Regions from separate parts of the Homo sapiens genome. Here regions 1, 2 and 4 are each linked to region 3. The links are contacts of gene promoters, found by promoter capture Hi-C in human tissues and cell types (Jung and others, 2019). All regions are on one chromosome and are shown on one strand. The core of a region is centred on a gene start or on the middle of the fragment in contact, and the rest is flanking DNA. Distances in the headings are between cores, read along the strand shown.

Region 1 (3,444 bases), core at 814-3,313, 160 kb after region 3:
CTGTGGGGACTGCTCTGACGAGTCTCTCACATGCATTCTCTGCAGGGAACTGTCCAGAAGAGGAACGCAGCTTGATGTTAAAAAAAAAAAAAAAATCAAAGTCCTCCACTGCTGTGCACTACAGTGAAATCCAGGAGATCTGTGATGCCCACCATAAGGGACATTCGAGGGCTTGCACTGGGCACAGCCAGTGGCACAGGTCTGGGGCCCTAGGATTCCAATGACCGGCACTTGGAAAAAGCTTGGTGACCTCTGTTGGAGCTATGCTGGAGGCTACTTATCAAGACCTAGCCCAGGTGTGGGCACAGCAGGTCCATTTTCCACTGACCTGAGAGCAGCTCACATTGCTGACTTGGATCTGGGGGCCTCTGTGTGCCCAGGTGCAGACCTTCTATGCCATTGCCACCCAGGGAGCTTAAGTCTTACCTGCTGAGGGTTGGCTTGTCTCAGCCACACTGTCTGGTCCTGGGGATAGAGGCCTGAATAGAGAAGCTCACCCTTTTTTGGGCATGATGTAACTGAGCATGTCAGTGGATCAGATGAGGCTTGAGCTGAGAGGACCCTGGCCCTATTCAGCAGAGGATGCAGCTCTGGGAATGAGAACAAGGACCTGCTACTGCTCAGATTTTTCTAGATGACCAGCAGTGACAATATTAGATGCACTGTGTTAATAAATGACAGAACATGAAGAAATCATAGGAAATAAATTTGAACAATATAATCAGAATGGTAAGCTTTTTTGTAAAAGGCCGATGCTATAGACAAATTTTATATTTCATGTTAGATATGGAGGTCTGGTGACAGTCATGCATTTCTATGTAATCAGGAAAATATTAGAATGTGATCATATGAGTTTGCATATTTTAGATTGTAGAAAAGAAATGTTACCCAGGCTGGAATGCAGTGACACAATCTTAGCTCACTGCAACCTCCGCTTCCTGGGTTCAAACAATTCTCATGCCTCAGCCTCTCAAGTAGCTGGGACTACAGGCATATACCACCATGCCTGGCTATTTTTGTTTTTTTTTTTTTTTTGTATTATTAGTACAGACAGAGTTTTGTCACGTTGGCCAGGTTGGTCTCGAACTCAAGTGATACGCCAGCCTTGACCTCCTAAAGTGCTGGGATTACAGGCATGAACCGCCTTACCAAGAAATTGCTCCTCTTTTATTTCAGAATAGGTTGTAGGCTCTCACTCTTCTAGCCTGAACCCGTGAAGTACTAATATCCAAAAAACATTAATAGCACTTGCTGTGGAAAAATGATTACACATTTTAAAGTTTGATATAATTATAGTAAAATTACCATGCAAGGTGTTTACTTTTAATATTTTTACAAAAAAATTAAGTAACGATATATTAAATGGTAAATGAGTGTACTCATTTATTCACCTGCCTCATGTTTTCATTATAAACATCCTAAATTAAATCCTATTGTATCTTACACATTTCAATTGATTGTATTGTATTGCAGGATATGGAGATTTCATAATATACTACAATAAAGTGTATTTTGTTATATTTAACATATATTCTACTTGTATTTTATATTGAGGTCATACAATCTTTCATTATTTGTTTTAATTATTTGGTTGCTTTATAATTTTCATTATATGTAATAATGTACATTGATGTTGTTTGGAATTTTAAATTTCAAGATAATTTTGTCTTACTTTCATATGGAATTAGTGTTTACTATAGATGTGAAAAAGAGAATGACTTATCTTTATTTCTGTGTCATCCTAACCCTGACCTCCCCACTGCCCATAGCTCTTGTCGTAGTCGGGAAATCGTGTTCTGTCACTCCAGTAAACGGGGCGATTCGATGATACCACACAGATATAAATTGCAGATGTAGAGCTTTTGTTCAAGACCAGTGCAACGGAAAAAAATCACAGGCATGTGAGTCACACAATTTTCGGGTTGTCAGTGCTTATAAAAATTATGCTTAAACTGTGCTGTAGAATAAGTCTGAAACACCCTTACGTCTATTAAACAAATGCACATACCTAAATAACGTGTCTAAATGGGAATGTAAATATCTTCACGAAACGTACTTTGTTGCAAAGTACACTTGCAACAAATAACAGTAACACAGAGATACAGTAGCATCATATAAGGTTGAAGAAATAGAGATGAGAAGAAAAACAGAGACAGCGAGAAAGGGAGAGACGGAGAGAGGAAAAGACAGACGGCGGCGGGGACATTGGAGAGGAGAAAAGAGAGGGAGGAAGAGAGGCGGGAAAGACAGAAGAAAGGCAGGGGAGGCGCGACGGGGCGAGGGACGGGGAGGAAAGCGGTCTCCCGCCTCCAGGGCGGGCCGAGGGCTGGGCCCGCGGGGCGCTCACGTCCCTCCGGATCGCCCGCCTGGGTCCGCTCGCCGCGGAGAGAGTCTCAGCAGTTCCGACTCCCGAGGAACGGGCGACTTCCCGAAACACCCAAGGGCCGCAGCGCAGGCGGCCGCCCGCTTTCCGCCCGCGCGGTTCACGGACCGCACATCGCCGGGCCGGGCCCTGCCACGGAGCCAGAGCCGGATGCCCCGAACACGCAGGAGTCACAGGGCGACCGGAGCGTGACTTCGGATTCCACGTTGCTTTGCCCTCTGCAAGGGGCCTGCTGGCCACTATCAAGGTATAGCAATTGAAGCAGCATGACACTAGAATAAAAACAGACATAAATACAAATGGAATGAAATGGAGAACTTAGAAACAAACTCATACAGCTAAACTAAACCTATTTTCAACAAAAGTGTCAAGAACATACAACAAAAAATAAGACAGTTTCTGTAACAAACGGGGCTGGGAAAACTGGCAAGCCATGGGCAGAAGAATGAAACTAGAACCCTACTTCTTGCCACATACAAAAATGAAAATGAATTAAAGACTTAAACCTAACGCCTCAGACTGTCAAACTTTTACAAGAAAACATTGGGGAAACTCTTTAGGGCATTGGTTTGGGCAAAAATCTCTTAAACTATGCCCCATAAGCACAGACAACCAAAGCAAACATGGACAAATGGAATTACAGCAAGTAAGAAAGCTTTTTTAAAGTGAAGGAAACAATAAAGTGAAGAGAAAACCCACAGAATGGGAGAAAATATTTGTAAATTACCCATCTGAAAAGCAATTAATAGCTACATGATATGGTTAGGCTTTGTGTGCCCACCCAAATCTCATACTGAATTGTAATCCCCAGGTGCTGAGGGAGAGACCTGGCAGAAAGTGATTGGATCATGGGGGTGGTTCCCCCCAGGCTGTTCTTCTGATAATGAGTGAGTTCTCATGAGATCTGATGGTTTTATAAGGGGCTCTTCCCCCTTTGCTTCACATACATGCTCTCTCGCCTGCTGTCGTGGAAGAGGTGCCTGCTTCCCCATCTGCCATGATTGTGAGTTTCCTGAGGCCTCTCCAGCCATGTGGAACTGTGACTCAGTTAAACCATTTCC
Region 2 (3,146 bases), core at 256-2,755, 250 kb before region 3:
CAGGTATTTCTGATGCAGGAAACGGAGCGACTCTAGGATGAGTATTCCTAGCATGATAGAAAAAAAGTAGGACTACATAGAAACATCTGACAGCAGAGGAACCACTGGTTTGGGCACCAGGCCTTATGCTGAAGTTGGGAAAATGTGGGAACAGAAGCATCCACAGGCTCCACTGACTTCCGTGCTCAGCCTCCTGGTACATGGGGAGCAGGTTCTTGGTGCGGATTTGCTGGCGCCGAAGGCGGATCTTCTGCTTCAGCTCCTGGATCTCTCTATCACTGTCTTCCTCTTCCACTTCCTCCTCCTCTAGGCACTGGCTCATCATGTTGCACTTCATTAGCTCGATGGCAGCAATTAAGGACTCTGAGATGCTGAAGTGGGCATTCTCCTGGCGGAAGGAGAGCACCAAACAGGCAAAGGGTTAGAAGTATTGAATGACATACTCATTATAATGTGGAAAAGGGAGTTTCCAAGATAGGAACTGTTCCTGCCAAAAACACCCTGGAGAAATGGACATTTCTACTACGAGGAAAGCTGATGGCTGGAAAACCTATTCTAGGTTTTCTTCACTCTCTTACTTTGCCAAGCCTGTCCCTTCCTGTCTCATTTCTACATAAAAATATGATAGAGAAGAGGCCCAGGATTTCAATCAGGTTCTTTCCCAAAATCATACACCTGTACACAAAATATTAAGATAAATGCTATGTCTCAAGATAAAAGTGCTTTGTAGTCTATAAAATGCTACACAGATGTCATTTATTGCTTATCTGAGCCTTAGAACAAAAGATAGAATTTGATTCTGGAAACAGTATTTACCTAAGGTGCCAGAGTCAAGGGAACCGCAATCATGCAGCAAAAACAATGCTGCCAGACGCAGCGGCTCACACCTGTGAATCCCAGCACTCTGGGAGGCCAAGCCCAGGAGTTCAAGACCCCAGACGCAGCGGCTCACACCTGTGAATCCCAGCACTCTGGGAGGCCAAGCCCAGGAGTTCAAGACCCCAGACGCAGCGGCTCACACCTGTGAATCCCAGCACTCTGGGAGGCCAAGCCCAGGAGTTCAAGACCCCAGACGCAGTGGCTCACACCTGTGAATCCCAGCACTCTGGGAGGCCAAGCCAAGGAGTTCAAGACCCCAGACACATGGGCTCACACCTGTTAATCCCAGCACTTAGGGAGGCCAAGCCCAGGAGTTCAAGACCAGCTTGGGCAACACAGGGAGACCTCCCCCATCTCTACAAAAAAATAAAAAAAATAGCCAGGTGTGGTGGTGCATGTTTGTAGTCCCAGCTACTCGGGAGGCTGAGGCGGGAGGATTGCTCGAGCCCAGGAATTTGAGGCTGTAGTGAGCCATGACCGTGACACTGCACTCCAGCTTAGGTGACAGAGCAAGACTCTTGTCTCAAAAAAACAAAAACACACACACAAACTTGATGCTTCTCTGCCCAGGTTGGCTTCTAAGATAAAATCGCTAATAATTTGGACTCAGTGAGGGGCACATGCTCCCTGCAGAGTTCCTCAGAAACAGAACTTGCTGAGCTTCCCTTTACCGTGAACTTATCTTTACTGTAATCTATACCCAAAACCTCATCAGAACAAATGGCACCACAGACCTTCAGACCCAATCTCCCAACTCATGAGCTCTTCATGAGGCCCTCGATTTCCCACCTTTTCCAGGTCGGCACAGCTGCCGAAGTCTTGCTCAGAGAGGTAGCTGATGAGGGACTGTCCTTCTGATGGTCTTCGGAACATGCCTTCCCCTGAGCACAGGTACCGACCACCTTCTGTGGGAAATGGAATGTGGATGAAACAGCCAGGCTTCTTCAGGAAGTCTTAAGCTTTTGTCATTAAAGATGCTCCCAAGTCTTCCCAGGTAACTGGGAATTAGAGGTTGGAAGAAGATGTCCACCTTCTAAAAGAATTTCTTGCACTTTGGGAGGGCAAGGCAGGCGGATCACAAGGTCAGGAGTTTGAGACCAGCCTGGCCAACATGGTGAAACCCCATCTCTACTAAAAATACAAAAATTAGCTGGGCATGGTGGCACATGCCTGTAATCCCAGCTACTCAGGAGGCTGAGGCAGGAGAATCATCTGAACCTGGGAGGCGGAGGTTGCAGTGAGCCAAGATCGCACCACTGCACTCCAGCCTGGGCAACAAGAGCAAAACTCTGTCTCAAAAAAAAAAAAACAAAACAAAAAAGAATTTCTTGGACTCTTAGAATCCCAGAGCACTAAGCCTCTTGGTTGGAAAACGGTAGAATAAACAGAGAGAATCCTTCTGCCATCTAAAATTAAAGAGAACATGCTCTCCCTCGTACCATACAGTAAAGAAAAAACAAAATAAAAATGTAGAACTTTGGGCTGGGAGGCAGAAAAGGACACAAATGGCTTCCTCCTCTGCATGATTTCCACATAGAGTCTGTCTGCTGGTTACTAAGCCCAGATACTCCAAGGCCTCTTTTCAAGGTCCATCTCATCCACTCAGAGAGCCATCCCATCTGGACCAGCCGACGTACCCGGTGCGAACACCCAGCACGTAAGAGAGGGTGGGACCCCCAAGTCAGAGAGAAGCAAGAGAAATGGCAGAGCAGTGTGATTTCTAGCACGGGGGTTAAAAATGACAAAAGAGTGACTGAGACTGTAACAGTGTGTACCCTCCAGAGAGCTGAGATGAACCCCAAAACTCAGAACTTAGCAGGCACAAGGGGTGAGCAGAGAAAATATACAATTTTAGCCCTGGCCTTCCTAGTACTCACCATATTCCATGTACAGAGAGCTGGGTGTGCTGACTTCACTGCTTTGACCAGAGTAGGGCAAAGGGCCTCTCAACTTCGCCTTATCATTGCAGGATTCTAATGACGATGACCACCAGCGAGTAAAAACACATACGAAATGAGCAACAGGTACATTCCCAACTCTGGAGTTTCAACACTTAACTGCACCCCTTCCCAAAGCCCTCCCAAGCAGGAGAGAGGCGGCACACCAACGGAACAGCCCAAGGGTACAGAAACACAGGGAGGGAAGGAGATGGCAGGTCAGTACATTCTAAGTGGAAAAGAAGAAACGTGATCCAGAATGGGGCAACATAAAGGAAAGAATCAAATCAAAATGGATTCATGGAATTTGCTTCTCTTTCCTTACATCTT
Region 3 (3,080 bases), core at 486-2,985:
CAGCAACATGACAACGATGCTCACAGTTGTATCAGGTGCTAAGTCTCAGTGCTCAATAAGTATTTGTGGAACGAATAATACACGAGCAAACGAATGAAACTCACACTTAATGTGTTATTCCTCCCAGGAGGACTTCCATATAGAACTTTGACAAATCAATATCTAATAGTGAAATTTCTAGCACATTTCTTTCTGGGACAGGGAACACTGGGTGGGGTAGTAGGCTACAAGGTACAAGTTCTATCCTGTTGTATTTAAGAGAGGATCTGATTTTAAAAGTGACTTATATACATCTATTTCATACAACTTCGGAGTCATACTTTACTCTCTCTCATTCCTCATCCACCAGCAAATCTTGCCAGAATTTAAATATATTCAGAATTCCAGTACTCAATATCCTCTGTTTACACACCATCACCTCTCATCATAGTCACTACAGGAACCTATAATTATCTTCCTGCTGATACCCTTGCCTCCCTTCACTTTCAACACAGTGACTTTGTCAATATAGAAGTCAGATAGAGTCACCCTTCTGTTCAGGACCCTTAAATAGTTCCCATCTCAAAGCAGGGGAAGCCTCTTTTACATACTTCCCATCTCAAAGTGGGGAAAGCCTCTTTTACAGTGGCCTCTCTGCTTAATTTTCTTCACAGAAATTATCATCTTCTAACGTGTCATCTATTTTTACTTGCTCATTGTGTTGCTCCGCCTCGTAGGATATAAGCTCCACGAGGGCATAGATTTGTTTACTGCCGTGTCATCTTACACAAACCTTGGTACAGGGTAGTCATTCATTAAACTATGTGTTAAATAAATGAATGAATCCATAGGATAACCCAAATAAATATGCAATAATTCGGAAATGTGAATCTCTGGCGTCCACTAATCCACCTCTACAAGTATCTACGGAGGACCTACTAGGTGCGGACACGAGGCAGCTAAACGAGTTCTCCTAAAAGGGCGATAAAGCCTCCTGCAGGCAGTCCTCCTCATACCTCGGATCCAAAAAGAAGAATGGAGGTAAGAACTTAAGTCATTTCATTCATTTTTTTTTTCTTTTGTAGAGGTTGGGGGAGGTGGTCTCACTATGTTGCCCAGGCTGGTCTCGAACTCCTGGCCTCAAGCGATCCTCCCGCCTCGGCTTCCCAAAGAGCTGGGTTTACAGGCGTGAGCCACTGTGCCCAGTCTCATTTCTTGAAAGAGATAAATAAGTAGAGGGGAGAAAAGAAGTATAGAAAAAGAAAAAAGAGAAGGAAGAGGTCCTGCTGCCTTCGTGCTCCCGGCCTTTCTCTTCCATGCTAGATTAGGATCCCAGAATTTCCGTTCTGTCTATTGCTGTGTGTATCGAGAGAAAAGCACCCCACTGTTGGCAAATCAATCTTACAGTCAATCATTCTTTAGGCAGCGGGAACATCCTCCACTCAGGGTTCGCCTTTCCACCTACGGCGTCCGGGGACGCAGGAAGTAAACTAAGTTGTTTCTATGGCAACGCACAGCTTTGGCGGATTTAGCTGGCTACCATTTTGCCTTCCCTTGTTCCCAAGTAGTACATTTTGCAGCCTACCAAGATGAAAGGACTTAGGAAAATAATTGTAAGAGTGCTATTGAATGTGGCTTATTTCAGTGCGAAGCCGATTTCCGAGGATTGTTTTTCTGGCGTTTGGAGAAGATGCCTAAATTGAGGGCGGAGTCGAAAGATGTTTAATCCCACAAGGCCACGCGGCGGGGCCTCGTCCTTCTCTTACCGCCATCTTGGCTCCTGTGGAGGTGAGTGAAGGGTCTGCTGCTGAAATTTGGGGGCAAATAACCGGAGTAGGTTTGTTCCTGTGCCTTGGCGAGTCGCCGGTGCGTATCGGAGTCTCTGCCAGCCATTGATTTCTACGGGTTTCAAGAAGAGGGAGAACAGGATGGAGGAGATGTTGGGCTGATGGTGTTTGGTCCCCTGACACCCGGAGAACGGCTGCCCGGGTTATCCCAGTTAAATTCCTGGGCCTGAACGGAGTGAAACGATGTTTTTGTTCGTGTGCAGTTGTCCATGAGGCAGTGCTTCCTTCATCCGTTTCCTCCCAGTCCATACCTTCCTTGGCTTGTCTGACCAGTCTCTTTCCTCAGCTTTTCTCCCCCAGCCATTGCATAAAAGTCTTACGTGTGTGTTTCTCTTTAAGGCTTCATTTCTTTTCCTGAGTGTTGCCTACTGATAACGGCATGCATTTTCTCAGGCTTTTCTGAGAGTCATTTTTGTGACTCCTGTCCCTTAGTTTTGTCTTCATTCTGAAGTTTGCTTAGATACCAGCTGTTCTCTGAGGTTTGAATGTCTTGCCGGACCCTGCGTTTCATATGGATGTTCTGGCATTGTTGTCCCCGAACTCCTACATGAAACTCCCATCCAAAAGGAATTTGCTTTAGGGGCTTAAACGAGAGGGGACGAGGTGGGAAACTTGTGTGGCTTGGTTTTAAACTAATCTTTTTGTTTGTTTTAAGGCCTGCTGGGAACGGGACTTCTAAAAGGAACTATGTCTGGAAGGTACGCGTTTTAAATATAGTTCTTTATTTTTGTGTGTTAGACGTGAACGTAAATGCGAGCTTAAAATTGGCAAGAAAAAACTTAGATGTTTGCTCTGAGTAACTTTTGGGTGGGGGTGATTACAAGTCAGATTGGTTTTTTGAAGCTTATGTTTCATGTTGTGTATCTTTTGTGTCTTAGGCTGTGGTCCAAGGCCATTTTTGCTGGCTATAAGCGGGGTCTCCGGAACCAAAGGGAGCACACAGCTCTTCTTAAAATTGAAGGTGTTTACGCCCGAGATGAAACAGAATTCTATTTGGGCAAGAGATGCGCTTATGTATATAAAGCAAAGAAGTAAGTTTATGACACTGGTAGGTTTTGGGTTTTTGAGATCTGCCTCATTTTCTTTTTTATATAACGGAGTCTTGCTCTGTTGCCGAGGCTGGAATGCAGTGACTTGGTCTCCCTCACCGAAACCTCCGCCTCCCGGGTTCAAGCAAGTGTCCTGTCTCAGCCTCCCGAGTAGCTGGGATTACAGGCGCCGGCCACCACGCCCGGCTAGTTTTTGTATTATTAG
Region 4 (3,290 bases), core at 622-3,121, 140 kb before region 3:
CCCGGCTAATTTTGTATTTTTAGTAGAGACGGGGTTTCTCCATATTGGTCAGGCTGGTCATGAACTCCCGACCTCTGGTGATCCACCTGCCTCGGCCTCCCAAAGTGCTGGGATTACAGGTGTGAGTCACTGCGCCTGGCCTATGTTTTTAAATATGAAAAGAAAACTAAATACTACTAGATAGTTGAAGAACATTTCTCTTTTTTCTTTTTTCTAATTTTAGTAGAGACAGGGATCTTACTGTGTTGCCCAGGCTGGTCTCAAACTCCTGAGCTCAAATGATCCTCTCACCTCAGCCTCTCAAAGTGCTAGGATTACAGGCATGAGTGCCTGGCCTTGAAGAACATTTCTGACATCAAAGAGAAGAACATAACAAAAGGAACCCAGAGAAAACAGACAGTGCTGACAAAAGAAAAACTTCCAAAAATCTGGAATCAATATCCTAAAAGTCAGAAAAGAAGGTACTGCAGACATGAAATATAATAAGGGTCTCTAAGAAAAGGGCATAGGAATGCCGGACATGGTGGCTCACTCCTGTAATCCCAGCACTTTGGGAGACTGAGGCAGGTGGATCACCTGAGGTCAGGAGTTCAAGACCACCCTGGCTAACATGGTGAAACCCTGTCTCTACTAAAAATACAAAATTAGTTTGGTGTGGAGTTTCACCATGTTGTCCAGGCTGCCCTTGAACTCCTGACCTCAAGTGATCCACCCGCCTCAGCCTCCCAAAGTGCTGGGATTACAGGTGTGAGCCACTGCATCCGGCTCCTGAGACCCCATTTTTACAAAAGATTTAAAAGAAAAATTAGCCTGACATGGTTCCGCATTCCTGTGGTCCCAGCTACTCAGGAGGCTCAGGTCAGAGAATCACTTGAGCCCAGGAGTTCCAGGTTTCAGTGAGCTGTGATTGCACCACTGCACCCTAGCCTGGGCGACAGGGCGAGACCCTGTGTCAAAAAAAAAAAACAAACAAACATGCATACACACATACAAGAGTTAAAAGTGATTGCTTTAGGGGAGCAGGTATTGGGAGTTAATGAGGAATTAGACCTCTCCTGTTTGGGTGCTAATTTTTACTTTCAGCCTATATCCTTCTACTTGAAGTGAGTTTCTTGTAAATAACATAGAGTTGCATTTTTTTTTTTTTTTTGAGACGGAGTCTCGTTCTGTCGCCCAGGCTGGAGTGCAGTGGCGCGATCTCGGGTCACTGCCAGCTCCGCCTCTCGGGTTCACACCATTCTCCTGCCTCAGCCTCCCAAGTAGCTGGGAGTACAGGCGCCCGCCACCACGCCCAGCTCATTTTTTTGTATTTCTTTTTAGTAGAGACGGGGTTTCACCGGGTTAGCCAGGATAGTCTCGATCTCCTGACCCTGTGATCCGCCCGCCTTGGCCTCCCAAAGTGCTGAGATTACAGGTGTGAGCCACCATGCCCGGCCGCATCATGTTTTTAAATCCACTTTGCTAATCTCTGTATTTTGGTCATTTGATCTGTCTTTTAGATAATTTGTATTTCATATCATTGTTGATGTGTTAGGGCCTAAGTCTGCCATTTTATTTGTTGTTTCCTTTGTTTTCCTTTCTGTGTTCTTTTTCTTGCCTTCCTGTGGGGTTCGTGAACATTTTTTAGAATTCCATTTTTATTTCTCTGTAGTGTTTTTGAGTGTATCTCTTTGTGTAGCTCTCTTTGTTGCTGCCCTAGGTATTACATGAGAGAAGTCCAACTTGTCAGTCTATTGGTATCCTTATTTTATGAGTTTGAGTGACGTATAGAAACCTTACCCCCTTCATGTCCCTTTTCTTTCCCTGTTATAGTTGTCTTAAATATTTTCTCTATAAATATTTAGAATCACATCAAACAGTCTTATAATTTTTGCTTCCAATATAATTTGGAAAACTCAAGAGAAGGAAAGTCTTTTATATTTACCCATATTTTTGCTTAGTGTTATGTACTGAATTTTGTCCGTCACCCACAAATTCATACATTGAAGTCCTAACTCTCAGTATCTGCGATTGTGTTTGGAGGTAGTACTTTTAAAGAGGTAATTAAGTTCAGATGGCATCATTTGGCTGGGCTGTAAGTCAATACAAGTGATGTCCCTGTGAGAGGAGATTAGGACAAAGACAAAGAGGAAAGATGATATGAAGACTCAGAGAGAAGACAGCATCTGCAAGCCAGTGAGAGAGACCTCAGAAGAAAGCAACCCTGCTAACACCTTCATCTCAGACTTCTAGCCTCCAGAATTTGAGAAAATACATTTGTATCGTTTCAGCTGCCCACTGTGTGGTATTTTATTGTGGCAGCTCTAGCAAACTCATACGCTGTGTCCTTTCTTGGTGTTTTAAGATTCCTTTCTTTCACCACTTACTTTCTATTTAGAGAACTTCCATTACTCATTCTTTTAGATTACATCTGCTGCTACAGACTCTCTCAGTTTTCATTCATCTGAGAATGTGTTGATCTCCTCTTGATTCCTGAAGGACATTTTGCTGGATATATATACAATTCTGGGTGAACAGTCTTTCTTTTAGTGATTGGAAGATGTTGGGCCAGGCGCAGTGGCTCATGCCTGTAATTGAAACACTTTGGGAGGCCGAGATGAGCAGATCACTTGAGCCCAGGAGTTTCAAGACCAGCCTGGGCAATGTGGCGAAACCCCATCTCTCCAAAAATTAGCTGGGCATGGTGGCACATGCCTGTAGTCTCAGCTACCTGGAAGGCTGAGGTGGGAGGATCACTTGAGCCCAGGAGATCAGAGCTGCAGTGAGCTGTGATTGTGCCACTGCACTCCAACCTGGGTGACAGTGAGACTGTCTCAGAAAAAAAAAGGATGATGTTCTGCCACTTCTTTCTGGCTTCCATGGTTTCTGATATGAAATCTACTGTCATTTCAATTGTCTCTCTCTTACTGCTTTCAATATTTTTTTTTTCTTGGCCAGGCATGGTGGCTCATGCCTGTTATCCCAGCAGTTTGGGAGGCCATGGCAGGAGGATCACTTGAGGTCAGGAGTTCAGGACCAGCCTGGACAACATAGTGAGACGTCTTCTCTACCAAAAATACAAAAATTAGTCAGGAGTGGTGGTGTGTGCCTGTAGTCCCAGCTCCTCAGGAGACTGGGGTGGGAGGATCTCTCGAGCCCAAGAGGTAGAGGTTGCAGTGAGCCATGATTGTGCCACTGCACTCCAGCTGGGGTAACAGAGTGAGACCCTGTCTAAAAAAAAAAAAAGGACTTTTTTTCTCTGTCTTCCGTTTTCAGAAGTTTGGCTATAGTGTGTCTTGTGGATGTCTTTG

Evidence for each region. The method cuts DNA at HindIII sites, captures the fragments that hold promoters and counts their contacts. A contact is called where the count stands out against the background at its distance.
Region 1: a fragment that was not itself captured here is called in contact with the fragment with the promoter of RPL35A in region 3 in 2 of the 25 tissues and cell types used here (lymphoblastoid cells and thymus).
Region 2: a contact is called between a fragment that was not itself captured here and the fragment with the promoter of RPL35A in region 3, in 2 of the 25 tissues and cell types used here (dorsolateral prefrontal cortex and lymphoblastoid cells).
Region 4: a fragment that was not itself captured here is called in contact with the fragment with the promoter of RPL35A in region 3 in 1 of the 25 tissues and cell types used here (hippocampus).

What each region holds. Positions count from the first base shown.
Region 1 is chr3:198,111,324-198,114,767 of GRCh38, forward strand. It overlaps the pseudogene FRG2FP. Among named protein-coding and RNA genes, the nearest start is that of FAM157A, 40 kb to the right of the region's middle. The HindIII fragment of the contact is 4,579 bases long and covers 1-3,444 here.
Region 2 is chr3:197,694,198-197,697,343 of GRCh38, forward strand. RUBCN (rubicon autophagy regulator) reads right to left here. Exons shown (of 20, transcript NM_014687.4): 8 at 2,757-2,852; 9 at 1,669-1,784; 10 at 178-388. Among named protein-coding and RNA genes, the nearest start is that of MIR922, 21 kb to the left of the region's middle. The HindIII fragment of the contact is 8,342 bases long and covers 1-3,146 here.
Region 3 is chr3:197,948,455-197,951,534 of GRCh38, forward strand. RPL35A (ribosomal protein L35a) reads left to right here and starts at 1,736. Exons shown (of 5, transcript NM_000996.4): 1 at 1,736-1,767; 2 at 2,482-2,524; 3 at 2,705-2,857. The coding sequence starts at 2,514. All of the region lies in intron 2 of DRC9 (dynein regulatory complex subunit 9), which reads right to left. RefSeq lists enhancers at 1,139-1,358, 1,438-2,220, 3,004-3,080. The HindIII fragment of the contact is 11,846 bases long and covers 1-3,080 here.
Region 4 is chr3:197,806,085-197,809,374 of GRCh38, forward strand. The region is part of intron 1 of LRCH3 (leucine rich repeats and calponin homology domain containing 3); the gene reads left to right. Among named protein-coding and RNA genes, the nearest start is that of LRCH3, 16 kb to the left of the region's middle. The HindIII fragment of the contact is 8,087 bases long and covers 1-3,290 here.